4 separate regions of the Homo sapiens genome follow, and all the other regions are linked to region 4. Evidence: promoter capture Hi-C in 16 types of primary human blood cells and fetal thymus (Javierre and others, 2016). All regions are on one chromosome and are shown on one strand. Each heading gives the region's core, a stretch centred on a gene start or on the middle of the fragment in contact. The rest is flanking DNA. Distances are from core to core; before and after follow the strand shown.

The links. Contacts are between HindIII fragments. The CHiCAGO score rates a contact against its expected background, and 5 or more counts as called.
Region 1: a contact is called between a fragment that was not itself captured here and the fragment with the promoter of CD244 in region 4, in 2 of 17 cell types (total CD8 T cells and M2 macrophages). The highest score is 5.4, in total CD8 T cells.
Region 2: a contact is called between a fragment that was not itself captured here and the fragment with the promoter of CD244 in region 4, in 1 of 17 cell types (megakaryocytes). The highest score is 5.2, in megakaryocytes.
Region 3: a fragment that was not itself captured here is called in contact with the fragment with the promoter of CD244 in region 4 in 2 of 17 cell types (megakaryocytes and total CD8 T cells); the score reaches 7.9 in megakaryocytes.

The regions. Positions count from the first base shown.
Region 1 is chr1:160,619,590-160,622,732 of GRCh38, reverse strand. It overlaps SLAMF1 (signaling lymphocytic activation molecule family member 1), which reads left to right. Exons shown (of 7, transcript NM_003037.5): 5 at 2,884-2,957. Among named protein-coding and RNA genes, the nearest start is that of SLAMF1, 26 kb to the left of the region's middle. The HindIII fragment of the contact is 1,693 bases long and covers 515-2,207 here.
Region 2 is chr1:161,014,121-161,017,394 of GRCh38, reverse strand. All of the region lies in intron 1 of F11R (F11 receptor), which reads left to right. Among named protein-coding and RNA genes, the nearest start is that of F11R, 5.4 kb to the left of the region's middle. RefSeq lists enhancers at 893-1,490, 3,132-3,274. The HindIII fragment of the contact is 7,117 bases long and covers 1-3,274 here.
Region 3 is chr1:160,679,784-160,683,303 of GRCh38, reverse strand. It overlaps CD48 (CD48 molecule), which reads left to right. Exons shown (of 4, transcript NM_001778.4): 3 at 1,836-2,102. It overlaps LOC124904439 (endogenous retrovirus group K member 18 Env polyprotein), which reads right to left and starts at 98. Exons shown (of 1, transcript XM_047438433.1): 1 at 1-98. RefSeq lists an enhancer at 1,781-1,870. The HindIII fragment of the contact is 2,742 bases long and covers 1-2,623 here.
Region 4 is chr1:160,861,320-160,864,623 of GRCh38, reverse strand. CD244 (CD244 molecule) reads left to right here and starts at 1,737. Exons shown (of 9, transcript NM_016382.4): 1 at 1,737-2,007. The coding sequence starts at 1,947. RefSeq lists an enhancer at 1,872-1,921. The HindIII fragment of the contact is 2,100 bases long and covers 1,710-3,304 here.

The DNA of each region.
Region 1 (3,143 bases), core at 112-2,611, 240 kb after region 4:
AGCTGTGTGATCAAATGACTTAACTTCTCGTCTGCAAAACAGGGGTAATACTATGTACTTCATGGTATTGTGGTGGAGATTGGTATCAATACACAGAAAACACTGAACACAGTGGTTCCCATCGATGGGTGATAGATAGATAGATACATAGACAGATAGATACATAGACAGATAGACAGATCTCTTAGTGTAGATGAATTAAAATGGCAATGTGTAAGTGCTATGGCCAGGAGAAGCTGCACTGGAAGCATCTGGAAACAATACCTAGAACAGATTGAAAATATTTTAAGTCATGGTAACATAAGACTTTATGCTTCAGGTAAAAGCTGAAAAGGATATTAGATACTCTATGCCCTCATTTTACAGTTATGGTAAGAGAAAAGACCCATTGAGATGACGTGATTTGTCCAATGCCACACAGCTAATGATGGCTACAATGTAGATGTCCTAATTTTAAGGCCAAGACTTTTTCCTTAGAGCCTAAGACCTTGCTGACTTGGAGCCGAGTTAAGCTTACTCCTAAAAACCTGTTCTTGCACTGGGGAAAATAACCTGAGACTAAATTATCTTGGTCCAATGGTCCTTTTAAGCAGCAACAATCAACCTCACCTCTTCCATCTGTCTGACCATTTAGGACTGTCCTTCCAGTTCTACATTTGACTCTGAGCTGACCTGCAAGACTGAAAGTCTTTGAGGACTGTAGTCTGTTCTCTACTCTATTTGTAGCCACTACAGCACCTAGGAGAGTGCTGGGCAGGCATGTCTTACTTTGCAAACACTCGTGGGGACTAACTTGAACCTCCTCTGCTACCTCCAACTGCTTCTTGAGTCCTCCCCTCCATTTTACACACACACACACACACACACACACACACACGCACTCACGCACACTCCTCAGTCAGGATCAACTCTGACCAAAAAAGCGAAGTTGAAACCACTAGGCACACCGTGCTCATACCCACACACAAAAAATCCCATGTTGACTTTCCTTGAATTCCTGGAACTTCATCAGTGTCTGCCCCACATTTCCTCCCCAAGACTCACACCCTCACGCAGCACATTCCACCATGCTCACCACATACACACTGGGCCTTTCCCTTCCAAAGAAAAATGTGCCTCTCCTAAAAATGCTATTTCCTCAGAGATGTGCCTTTTTTTTTTTTTTTTTTTTTTTGAGATAGATTCTTGCTCTGTCACTCAGGCTGGAGTGCAATGGCATGATCTCGGCTCACTGCAACCTCTGTCTCCTGGGCTCAAGCAGTTCTTCTGTCTCAGCCTCCTGAGTAGCTGAAATTATAAGCGCGTGCCACCATGCCTGGCTAATTTTTGTATTTTTAGTAGAGACAGGGTTTCCCCATGTTGGCCAGGCTGGTCTCAAACTCCTGACCTCGTGATCTGCCCACCTCAGCCTCCCATAGTGCTGTGATTATAGGCGTGAGCCACTGCACCCAGCCCAGTTTTTTAAGAGAATAAATTAACTGGTGTTAAAATAAGTCTACCTTAAAGGCTGTGATTTTCTGGGTCCAGCCTCCATTGCCTCTGCCTGGACTTTGCAATAATCCCATAATAAACCTCCATCCTTCAGTCTGCCACTTTCCCACCATCCTTACTGCTGCATGATGTATACAAAGGATACTGTGCAACTTTAGAAAGAATGAGATAGGTCTACTGTGCTAACATGAAAAATGTCCTCAATACATTTTAAGTGAAAAGATCAAGTTACAGAGAAGTGTGTGCAGAATGACACCTCTTGTGTGGAAAAAAGTCTATATAAGTATAGCAAATATCCAAAACTGCATTGTCTAATATGGTAGTCACTAGCCACATGTGGCTTTTTAAATTTAAATTAATTTGAATTAAATAAAATTTAAAATTCAGTGACATTAGTCACAGTTCAGGTGCTCCATAGCCCCGTGTCTGTAAGCTGTATTAGACACTGCAGATATGGAACATTTCCATCATCTCAGAAAGTTCTGTTGCACAGAGCTGATCTACAGGGATATACATCAAACTTTTAAAAATGGTTTCTTCTTTTTTTTCCCACTTCTTTTCACAGGTATTGAAAAATACGGTTTCTTTTGGGAATGAAATTGGGTTGGTTAATGGAAGAAGGGGATTTATACTTTTTACTTTATACTTTATATATTTCTTCACAATTTTTATTTTATGATGAGAATAAATTACTCCTATAATTTAAAAAGAAAGCTTTTTAAAATTGGCTAAAAATTAAAATATTCTGCAACTTATTAATTTCCAGAGACCCTAGGCCCTGAGCAAAATTTCCAGATGGTGGGCAACAGAATGACATTGTTGCTTTATTTTCTAAATAGTCCCAGGTGGAACATCCCTCTTACACGTCCCCCCGCCCTTACCTCCCACACATCAATTCCCCCAGAAATAGGGAGGTGAGAAAGCTGTGAGTGAAGCAACATACTACCAGCTGGAAAATACAAAAGAGGTATAAACAACTAGCCCTGCCCTCAAAGAACTTAGAATCCTATTAGGAGACCAGATATGCACATTGAGCAACAGAGATTAAAGTAATTGAATGGTACACCAATGAGAAAAACACCTAATGCGTATTGGGCATTTGTTATGCACCAGGCAGTGTTCTAAACACTTTACAAGTGGTATCTCATTTAATTATCACAACAGCCCCGTGAGGCAGGTATTTCAAATCCCATTTCACAGATAGGCCTAGAGTGATCAAGTAACTAACCTAAGACAATATGACAAATGTGCAGGGGGGCTGGGACTCAGGGCTTTGTTTCCATTGTGCCCTTGGGGAAAGTGGGTATGCAAAGGACAGTAAAGACCAGGTCTGAGTAAGGAGCTCCTGCTGGGGACCAGAGGGAGATAACCATTATGGTTTCTTTTCACCAGGTAAAACGAACCATTACCAGACAACAGTGGAAAAAAAAAGCCTTACGATCTATGCCCAAGTCCAGAAACCAGGTGTAAGTTCTATATTTTGTTTGAGATGAACCTGTCATGTTTCCTAGAGTATTCCTGGCCAGTCTACCTTGCCTGTTGGACATTCACAGTTTTCCATCCAGAGCAGAGGAAGGTAGGGAACAGGAGTCAAGAACAAGAGTTCTCCTAAAGTCACTAAACGTCAGTGTTTGAAATAATGGGCAACACTG
Region 2 (3,274 bases), core at 659-3,158, 150 kb before region 4:
GATGGAACGTACAATGTCTTGGTTTTATACCGAGACATTCCATTGCCCAGGGACGGGCAGGAGACAGATGCCTTTCTCTTGTCTCAACTGCAAGAGGCATGCCTTCCTCTTATACTAATCCTCCTCAGCACAGACCCTTTACAGGTGTTGGGCTGGGGGACAGTCAGGTCTTTCCCTTCCCACGAGGCCATATTTCAGACTATCACATGGGGAGAAACCTTGGACAATACCTGGCTTTCCTAGGCAGAGGTCCCTGCGGCCTTCCGCAGTGTTTTTGTCCCTGGGTACTTGAGATTAGGGAGTGGTGATGACTCTTAAGGAGCATGCTGCCTTCAAGCATTTGTTTAACAAAGCACATCTTGCACAACCCTTAATCCATTTAACCCTGAGTTTGACACAGCACATGTTTCAGAGAGCAAGGGGTTGGGGGTAAGGCCATAGATTAACAGCATCCCAAGGCAGAAGAATTTTTCTTAGTACAGAACAAAATGGAGTCTCCTATGTCTACTTCTTTCTACACAGACACAGTAACAATCTGATCTCTCTTGCTTTTCCCCACACTGGTGAGTCACTCCTCCTTTCCTCTCCCTCTACTCCCAGGAGTGAATTGTTCCCTCCAAACTAGAAACTGGTGACTGGCACTTCCTAGTTCTACCTGGAACTAGGAAACGAGTGGCAGTGGAATTTCAGTGTCCTTTAGTCTTTGCCTTCTGGCTCCAGATCACTTTTTTTTTTTTTGAGACGGAGTCTCATTCTGTTACCCAGGCTGGAATGCAGTAGCATGATCTTGGCTCACTGCAACCTCCACCTCCCGGCTTCAAGCGATTCTCCTGCCTTAGCCTCCCCAGCAGCTGGGACTACAGGCACGCGCCACCACGCCCGGCTAATTTTTTGTATTATTTATTTATTTATTTGTTTTTGAGACAGAGTCTCTCTCTGTCGCCAGGCTGGAGTACAGTGGCACGATCTCGGCTCACTGCAAACTCCACCTCCCGGGTTCATGCCATTCTCCTGCCTCAGCCTCCTGAGTAGCTGGGACTACAGGCGCCCGCCACCATGCCTGGCTAATTTTTTCTATTTTTAGTTGAGACGAGGTTTCACTGTGTTAGCCAGGATGGTCTTGATCTCCTGACCTCATGATCTGCCCGCCACGGCCTCCAAAAGTGCTGGGATTACAGGCGTGAGCCACCGCGCCCGGCCCCTAATTTTTTGTATTTTTAGTAGAGACGGGTTTTCACCATGTTGGCCAGGCTGGTCTCGAACTCCTGACTTCAAGTAATCCTCTTGCCTAGGCTTTCCAAAGTGCTGGGATTACAGGCGTGAACCCCTGCACCTGGCCACTCCAGACCACTTTTACCTCACCATGTTGCTCTTCAGTTCCTTTGTGATCATGTCTTGTGGAGTCTCCAGCCCAGTTCCGATTCAAGATAGAGCTACTGTGATTTTTTTTAAAAAAATTTAATTAGAATAGGTTAATTGACATGGTTTTATAATTAAAATGATATCAAAGGGGTGGGGTATCTCATTCCCATGTTGCTCCTGTTCACCCCAAACCCCAATAGTTTCTAATGTCTCTTCAGTGTTTCATTTTACAGATACAAGTATATATAAATAATACTTGTTTTTTCTCCCCTTTCTGACACAAAAAGAGGCATACTACATATATTCTACATCTTGCTTATATATATATATCATGGAGTTTTGTTGTTGTTGTTGTTGTTTTTGAAACAGGGTCTCACTCTGTTGCCCAGGCTGGAGTACAATGGCATGATCATAGCTCACTGCAGCCTTTTTTTTTTTTTTTGAGACAAAGTCTTGCTGTGTTGCCCAGGGAGGAGTCCAGTGGCGTGATCTTGTCTCACTGCAGACTCTGCCTCCCAGGTTCAAGTGATTCTCCTGCCTCAGCCTCCCGAGTAGCTGGGACACAAGCGTGCACCACCATTCTTGGCTAATTTTTGTGTGTGTGTATATATATATATATATATATTTTTTTTTTTGAGATGGAGTCTGGCTCTGTCACCCAGGCTGGAGTGCACTGGAGCAATCTCGGCTCACTGCAAGCTCCGCCTCGCGGGTTCACGCCATTCTCCTGCCTCAGCCTCCCGAGTAGCTGGGACTACAGGGGCCCGCCACCACTCCGGCTGATTTTTTGTATTTTTTTTAGTAGAGACGGGGTTTCACCGTGTTAGCCAGGATGGTCTCGATCTGCTGACCTCGTGATCTGCCTGCCTCGGCCTCCCAAAATGCTGGGATTACAGGCATGAGCCACTGTGCCCAGCCTTTTGTACATATTTTTTTAATTTAATTTTTTTTTTTTGAGATGGAGTCTTGCTCTGTTACCCAGGCTGGAGTGCAGTGGCGTGATCTCGGCTCACTGCAAGCTCTGCCTCCCGGGTTCACGCCATTCTCCTGCCTCAGCCTCCCAAGTAGCTGGGACTACAGGCACCCGCCACCATTCCCTGCTAATTTTTTTTTTTTTTTGTATTTTTAGTAGAGATGGGATTTCACCATGTTAGCCAGGATGGTCTTGATCTCCTGGCCTTGTGATCTGCCCCCATTGGCCTCCCAAAGTGCTGGGATTACAGGTGTGAGCTGCCCGGCTAATTTTTGTATTTTTAGTAGAGATAGGGTTTCACCATGTTGGCCAAGCTGGTCTTGAATTCCTGACTTCAAGTGATCCGCCTGCCTTGGCCTCCCAAAGTGCTGGGATTACAGGCATGAGCCACCGTGCCTGGCCTCACTGCAGCCTTGACCTCCTGGGTTCAAGCAATCCTCCAGTCTTAGCCTCCTGAATAGCTGAGGCTATAGGCAAGTGTGAGTGGTGAGCCATACCTGGCTAATTTTTTATTTTTTTAGTACAGACAGGGTCTCATCTGTTGTACAGGCTGGTCTTGAATTCTTGGCTTTAAGGGATCCTTTTGCCTTGGCCTTTCAAAATGCTGAATGACAGGTATGAGTCACTACACCTGGCCCATATTGGTTTCTAGGGATTGTGGCCTTGGCTGTTAGGATACATCCCACCCCCCTCCAAGTCAGCTGAGTTCAATTTGCACTTGTTCTGTGGACACATAAATGGGCAACACACGTTTCCACCACACCCAAAAATAGATTTAAATGCCATGCACATTTTATGTGATAATAATGAGACTTGTTTATCACATCTGTTAGGTTTGACTAGAGACCCTGGAGATCTCTAAACTCAAACCAGTTTCTGTTTCAGAGATTCAGGAAAGACCTGGATGACCTTGCGTCCAACATAATTGAGGATGAGGTT
Region 3 (3,520 bases), core at 3-2,502, 180 kb after region 4:
GCATTTCTGACAGCTCAAAGCGAGCATCTTGGAGCTGGACAACCCAAGCTGGCTCAATTAATTCCATCAGCAAAGTGCCCAGTGCTGTGCTGATCACCATGGGAAATGCAGAAGGAGTGTAAGATATGAGGCTAGAACACAGGAAATGGTGAAAACCAGGATAAAAATTGCTCAATTAAAACATATAGGGGAAGTCCAGGAAACTTTTATCACCTCTGTAGTCTGAGCAATCTTTTAGCGATCTGAGATCAGCTTCACAGAGGAGACAAAACTAGAGTTCTAGAGACCAGATTGGTAGAGCTTCTAGAGCCTCTCCACACATACAACCAAGAGGCAAGCTCTGATCTGGTCAATTCTCTGCCAATTTTTAATCTTATGGGATTTGAGTTGCATTGATTCTGCAGATGTTTCACCCTGACCAGAATGAAAAGATCTCAGAGGATTGCAGGTAAACCGGCCTTAGCCAAGGAAGGACCAGATGCTGGGACTATCTCTCATTCTCTCCGGCAGCAGTACAACAGTAATAATGGTAAAATGGCCTCTAGAATGTATGCAATACTTACACTCTTCAAAAAGCAATTATCCATGACAGGTGACGTTTTATCTTACTAACATTGCGCGATGAGGTAGAGTCAGTTTACAGATGACAGCAAGGGGGTTAACTACCTTGCCTAATGTCACTCCACTAGAGTCAAGTCCAGGACCCAGGCTGGTCTCACTCCAAAACTAGTGTTTTTGTGTCTACTTGCCTCCCTCCCTCCCTCCCTCCCTTCTTTTTCTTTTTCCTCTCTTCTCTTCCCTTCTCTCTCTCTTTCTTCCTTTCTTTCTTCTTTTTTTTTTTTTTTTGAAGGTCTTCTCCTTACCCAAGCTGGAGTGCAGTGGTATAATCATAGTTTATTGCACCCTGGAACTCCTGGGCTCCAGCAATCCTCCTACCTCAGCCTCCTGAGTAGCAGGGACTAAAAGTGCACACCACCACACCTGGCTACTTTTCTTTTCTTTTCTTTCTTTTTTTTTTTTAGAAACTGAGTCTCTCAATGTTGCCCAGGCTGGTCTCTTAACTCCTGGCTGCAAGCAATCCTCCTGCCTCAGCCTCCCAAATTGCTGAGATTACAGGTGTGAGCCGCTGCACCCGGCTGTGTTTTATCCTTTCTATCTCATAACTACTTCATTCATCCTTTCATGAGATACTTATAGAATACCTGCCATGTGGCAGGGATTGTGCTAGACATGGAGATACCAAAGTTAGCAGACCAATCTGTTTATCACAATTGATGCGGCTGGAAGTTACATGAAGTTCTTCTCTGTAGCTCTGCCAGAGTCTAGAAGGCTGGCACCTGCACTGGATGGTTGTGCAAAGGACTTTGCCACGCGCAGACAGGTACCTCTTACCTTAGGACTCTTGCTGAAGCTGAATCCGATAATTGGAAAGACAGACCAGCCAAGGTGCCCGCCATGAACCGTTGCTAGAGAAGGGTCCCTGAGCATCTCAGGCAGTTGATATACTAAGTCTGACCCCAGCAAGTCTCTGGGCTGTTCGTTCAGGCTCACACACGATCATAACCCCATTTTGTTCCCAGAGCATATGATGGACTGTGGCGCCCCCTCCAGGACGCAGCTTAGCTTCACTGCCTAGAAGCCGCTCTTGCAGTGAGTCTGTGAGGCCTCAGGAGGTCAAGGCTGCTCACTGGCTCCCTCTGTAGAACTTCTTCTTCATGACTCTGCCTCCTGGGGCATTCAGGCCCCTTCCCTGGATCCCTTTGTTCTTTGTTGGCTAAACCTTCACAGCATGAATGCCTCACTGTCTCATCTTATAACATCCTCCTCACTTTCAGACCCTGTACCCAAGCCTGTCATCAAAATTGAGAAGATAGAAGACATGGATGACAACTGTTATCTGAAACTGTCATGTGTGATACCTGGCGAGTCTGTAAACTACACCTGGTATGGGGACAAAAGGCCCTTCCCAAAGGAGCTCCAGAACAGTGTGCTTGAAACCACCCTTATGCCACATAATTACTCCAGGTGTTATACTTGCCAAGTCAGCAATTCTGTGAGCAGCAAGAATGGCACGGTCTGCCTCAGTCCACCCTGTACCCTGGGTAAGAAGGATCCCTGGGAGCTGAGGGGGGCACAGGGTAACTGGAGTTGTTTTGAACAAAGAAAGGCTGGGGGTCCTATTCAGCCTCCTTGCACAGTGTGGTGGTGAATCCCTAAGGTGTCTGGGAGAGCTGGGAGACGTGGGTTCTGCCACCAGCTCTACCACCACCTCCCAGCCAGCTTACCTCAACTTCGTGGGGGCTCAGTGTTCTCACCTGCAAAGGACGTTTGGGAGAGATCTCTGATACTCCTCTTCCCTCTCCCGCTCTAACAAAGCATAGTCCTAACATCTGAGGCCAGGGTCATCATAGAGTAGACTGAAACATCAGGGTGAGCAGGGAGAAGGAAGGGCAAGTGGGCGAGCAGCTGTCTAGAGGGGCTTCATTAGACAGCCGAAGTCAGCCAAGGAAAGAGGGACCGAGGTCATTAGACCGCCAAAGTCAGCCAGGGAAAGAGGGACTGAGGAGACGGGCCTGAGAGAGGCCGTCGAGGAGGCGTGAGAGCCTGAGCCTCAGGCGAAGCTTCTCCTCCCCAGCCTGATGTTCCTAGATGAACTTAGGAAGCCAGATTCCCCTGTCTCCTGGGAGGATCCACTCATGAGTGTCACACCTGGCTCTAGATCAGGCCTACACTGGTGCTAGCATGGGACAGCTAAGGCCATGGGTTTTAGAGTCAGTCATACCTGGGGTCACTTCTAGGACTGTCACTTACTAGCTAAACAAGTTACTTAGCTTCCCCAAGTCATGTTCTTCCTAAATAAAGGACAAAATAACAGTTCCTATCTCGTGCTAAGGATTCAATGAGACAAGACACGTAACTGCCTATCACAGTGGCTGACAAGTCCTTAGTAAGCGGGAGCTAAATGAGACGCAGTCTCTTAGAGTTTTGGGGACCCTTAATAAACTTGGATCAATATCTCCAGCACTCTGGGAAATACCAGAGTCAGATACCCTCCACAATCCTGAAGTCAGATCCCTGAGCCCTAGCGTACACATTCTTCTAGAATAACTCAGACCTGAGGTGCTCACATTCACCTGTGACCCCTGTCATGCCCAGTCATCAGGGATTCTGGCCTCTGAGAACGTTGCTGTTTTGTGGTCTTCCTGGGCTCTGTCTACCCTCCTTAACTGCACTGATTTCTTTATCTCTACTCCCACATGTGGACTACGGAGACTGTGTATGCTCTTCCTTATTCTTCCTAACTAATTGGCCCTGTCTCTACCAGCCTCTCCTGATATGCCTTGCTCTTCTGCCACCACAGACCCACTGTGACAGTGTGGTATCTGACCATGAGAACACAATTTGGCTGGTGGTTCCAACACCACCCTCATATCAATATCACATCCTGAGATCCAGAAAAAGGAAGACGCACATTCCCTGTCCTCTATAAAATGGGTGTGACTGTTCATCCGAAGAGAGG
Region 4 (3,304 bases), core at 488-2,987:
CCGAGTTCTGTTTCCAGGGGATGATAGGTCATCCACATGCCTGGTGGGAAGGATGGAGCTGGTGTTGGGGTCAGGATTGGAGAGGCTGATTCCTAATTCACATTCATTAGTGGGTTCCAACAGCTGGATCTTGTTTTCCACCTGTCGTGTGAGGAAGTTTACCCTTCTTTGTTATATCATGTCTTGTGCACCACTTCTCAAGGTTAAGGACATGGCCAGATCAACTCTGAAGAAATTCCCCAGGGTTGAGGGCTGCCCCTTGGGAGCAGACAAAGGAGAGAAGAGATGATAACCATTAGACCCGCTGGAAAAAGCTATTCAGAGCTTAAAAAAATGAAAACAAAACCACAAAAACCTCATCTATGTCCAGTGTTTTTTGTGTGCATATTCTGGAGTATCATTTTTAATTTGATCCTGAAAACTGCCTTGTGAAGGTGGGGAGGATGTATTGTTGACCCTACAGGCTCAGACAGCAACAAGGCCAGAATCACATAGGTTGTAAGTTGCTGAATGGGAGCTGCAAGTCCAAGTCTTTGACTCTAAATCCAGCGCTCTGTCCAGAGCCCCGCTGCTGCCTCTGTTGGCAGCTGAAGCTGTCAGTCTGCTGCCCCCTGCCCAGTTCAGACAGGGTGGCTGGAAATGGACCAAAGGATGGAAAAAGAGAATAAGAGCGGACTTGAAGGGAACTGAAAGTATTTGTTAAGGGGAAAGCAGAAGGAAGAAAGAAAGAGGCATGAACCCTGGGGCCTGGCCTTGAAGCACAGTGTTCCAGGGGAGGGGGGATGCCGCTGTCCCCACCCCTCCATGGGGGCCTAAGCAGATCCAGAGCTGCCTGGCCTTCCTGGAGGGTGGCGTCCAAGCATGGATGGGAAGGCAGCAAAAATAGGCCCATGTCACTTCTGGGAGAAGACAAAAGAGGGAAGAGAGGACTACTATAGAAAAGTAGAAAAAGAGGAAGGGAGGGAATCTAGGCATACAGATCGGAAATGTGGAGCAAAACAAAATTTTTTTTTTTTTTTTTGAGACACAGTGTCGCTCTGTCACCTAGGCTGGAGTGCAGTGGCGTGATCTTGGCTTACCGCAACCTCCACCTCCTTTGCTCAAGTGATTCCCCTGCCTCAGCCTCCCAAGTAGCTTGGATTACAGGTGCACGCCACCCAGCCTGGCTAATTTCTCTATTTTTAGTAGAGGTGGGGATTCACCATATTGGCCAGGCTAGTCTCGATCTCCTGATCTCAAGTGATCTGCCTGCTTCAGTCTCCCAAAGTGTTGGGATTACAGGCGTGAGCCACTGTGCCCCGTGTGAAACAAATTCTTATGAAACAAATTTAATTTACATGTGCTTAAACTTTGGTGTCAACTTGCATGGAATCCCCAGGCTTGCTAGATTTTTCTAGTGCCTCCAGCCCTTAGGTCTCTTCCTATGTTCTCTCAGCTACTCCTCCTTTCCTTCAACACTGTTAGCCGCTTATCCAGGGCCCTACGTTTCAGCCCACTCCTCCTCCAGCCCCTCTCCACTCCACCTCCACAATGTCTGTTGGAATGGAACAGTTGGGGATACTGGCTGTTTGGCCCCCATGGGGGTCTCTCCATATAGGATTCAGAGAATTGGAAGACTTCTTGGGCTGAAGCAGAGAACGGGATGCAATTTTGAAACTGGCTTTGTGAGTCACTGTGAACTTCAAGCACCCTCCCACTTGAGGTAAGCTTCACCAGTTTGGCTTGTGGGAACTGTCAGACCAGCTCCAGGCGCTGGGGCTTTCTCAGTGGCCTTGTCAGCTCACAGCAGGCGTTAACAGCCTCTAATTGAGGAAACTGTGGCTGGACAGGTTGCAAGGCAGTTCTGCTCCCCATCGTCCTCTTGCTGACTGGGGACTGCTGAGCCCGTGCACGGCAGAGAGTCTGGTGGGGTGGAGGGGCTGGCCTGGCCCCTCTGTCCTGTGGAAATGCTGGGGCAAGTGGTCACCCTCATACTCCTCCTGCTCCTCAAGGTGTATCAGGGCAAAGGTAAGGAGGTCCTACCTGGCGTGGGGCGAGGGAGGGACTAGGAGCTGTGCCCCTCAGGGAGATCAGAGCCAGAGCCTCTGCTTGTGCCACATACACAGTCATCTGGAACTTGACTCCGAGCAGCTCCTGACAGCTCTGACAGTCTAAATCAGACAGGACAGGCTGGCAGTGCACTGGGAGGTCTGTGAGAGGGGTATCTGGCCCTGCCACCAGCAATCCAGGAAGTCTTGGGTGAGGAGATTCCTTCCCACTGGCTTCAATTTACCCTTCCGTGTAGTGGAGAGAGAAGCCTCCTTCCAGCCGCCTGTAAAGATGATGAAAATTGCATCCTCCAATTGTGGCATGAGAGAAGAGAAGCAGTCCCAAGGAAGTGGGTGGTTCTCGAGCTCAGAGACAGATGGATGGACCCCTGAGGCAGGAAAGCTGAGCCCAGGGAGGGGAGGGCGAGGCCAGCAGCCAGGAAGAAGCTGGAAGGCATGGTCCCTCATCTCCCCGGCTTCTTCAGCCATCCAGATGCCACAGGAGCCTGGAAATTATTAGGGACATGCAGGGTTGGGGCAGAAGAAGGAGACAATATGAGGAAGCTCCACAGCAAACCTAAAGCTGTCAGCCAGGCATGGAGCCATCTAACATTTACTCCTGGGGATCCCAGCTGAGGGCTGCTCCCCTCTTTCTCCAGTTCTGGGGTCCAGGATGCTCTGAAACCTGGATCCCGCATTTAATTTAATTGAATTAATTTATTTATTTCATTTTTAATTTTTATTTATTTATTTATTTTTTGAGACAGAGTCTCCTTCTGTCACCCAGGCTGGAGTGCAGTGGCGTGATCTTGGCTCACTACAAACTCTGCCTCCCGGGTTCAAGTGATTCTCATGCCTCAGCCTCCCGAGTAGGTGAAATTACAGACGTGCGCCACCATGCTTGGCTAATTTTTGTATTTTTAGTAGAGACCAGGTTTCACCATGTTGGCCAGGCTGGTCTTGAACTCCTGACCTCAGGTGATCTGCCCACCTTGGTCTCCCCCATCCAAAGTGCTGGGATTACAGGTGTGAGCCACCATGCCCAGCCAGGGTTCTGCATTTTAGATCAGTGACTCTGCAGGGGCTTCACGGAGGTGGAGAGCGTGGAATTAGAGGAGGGTACACTCTGGGCACAAAGAGGGGAAACTGAGGCATAGTGTTGTGTGGGTTCAGGGCCAGGTAGAAGCCCCATATGCAATAAAGTCCCATGCCCAGGTACTCAATTCAGTTACCGAGTCCCTGAGCATTCTTGTGTCCTTCAGGAAGACACAGTCAAG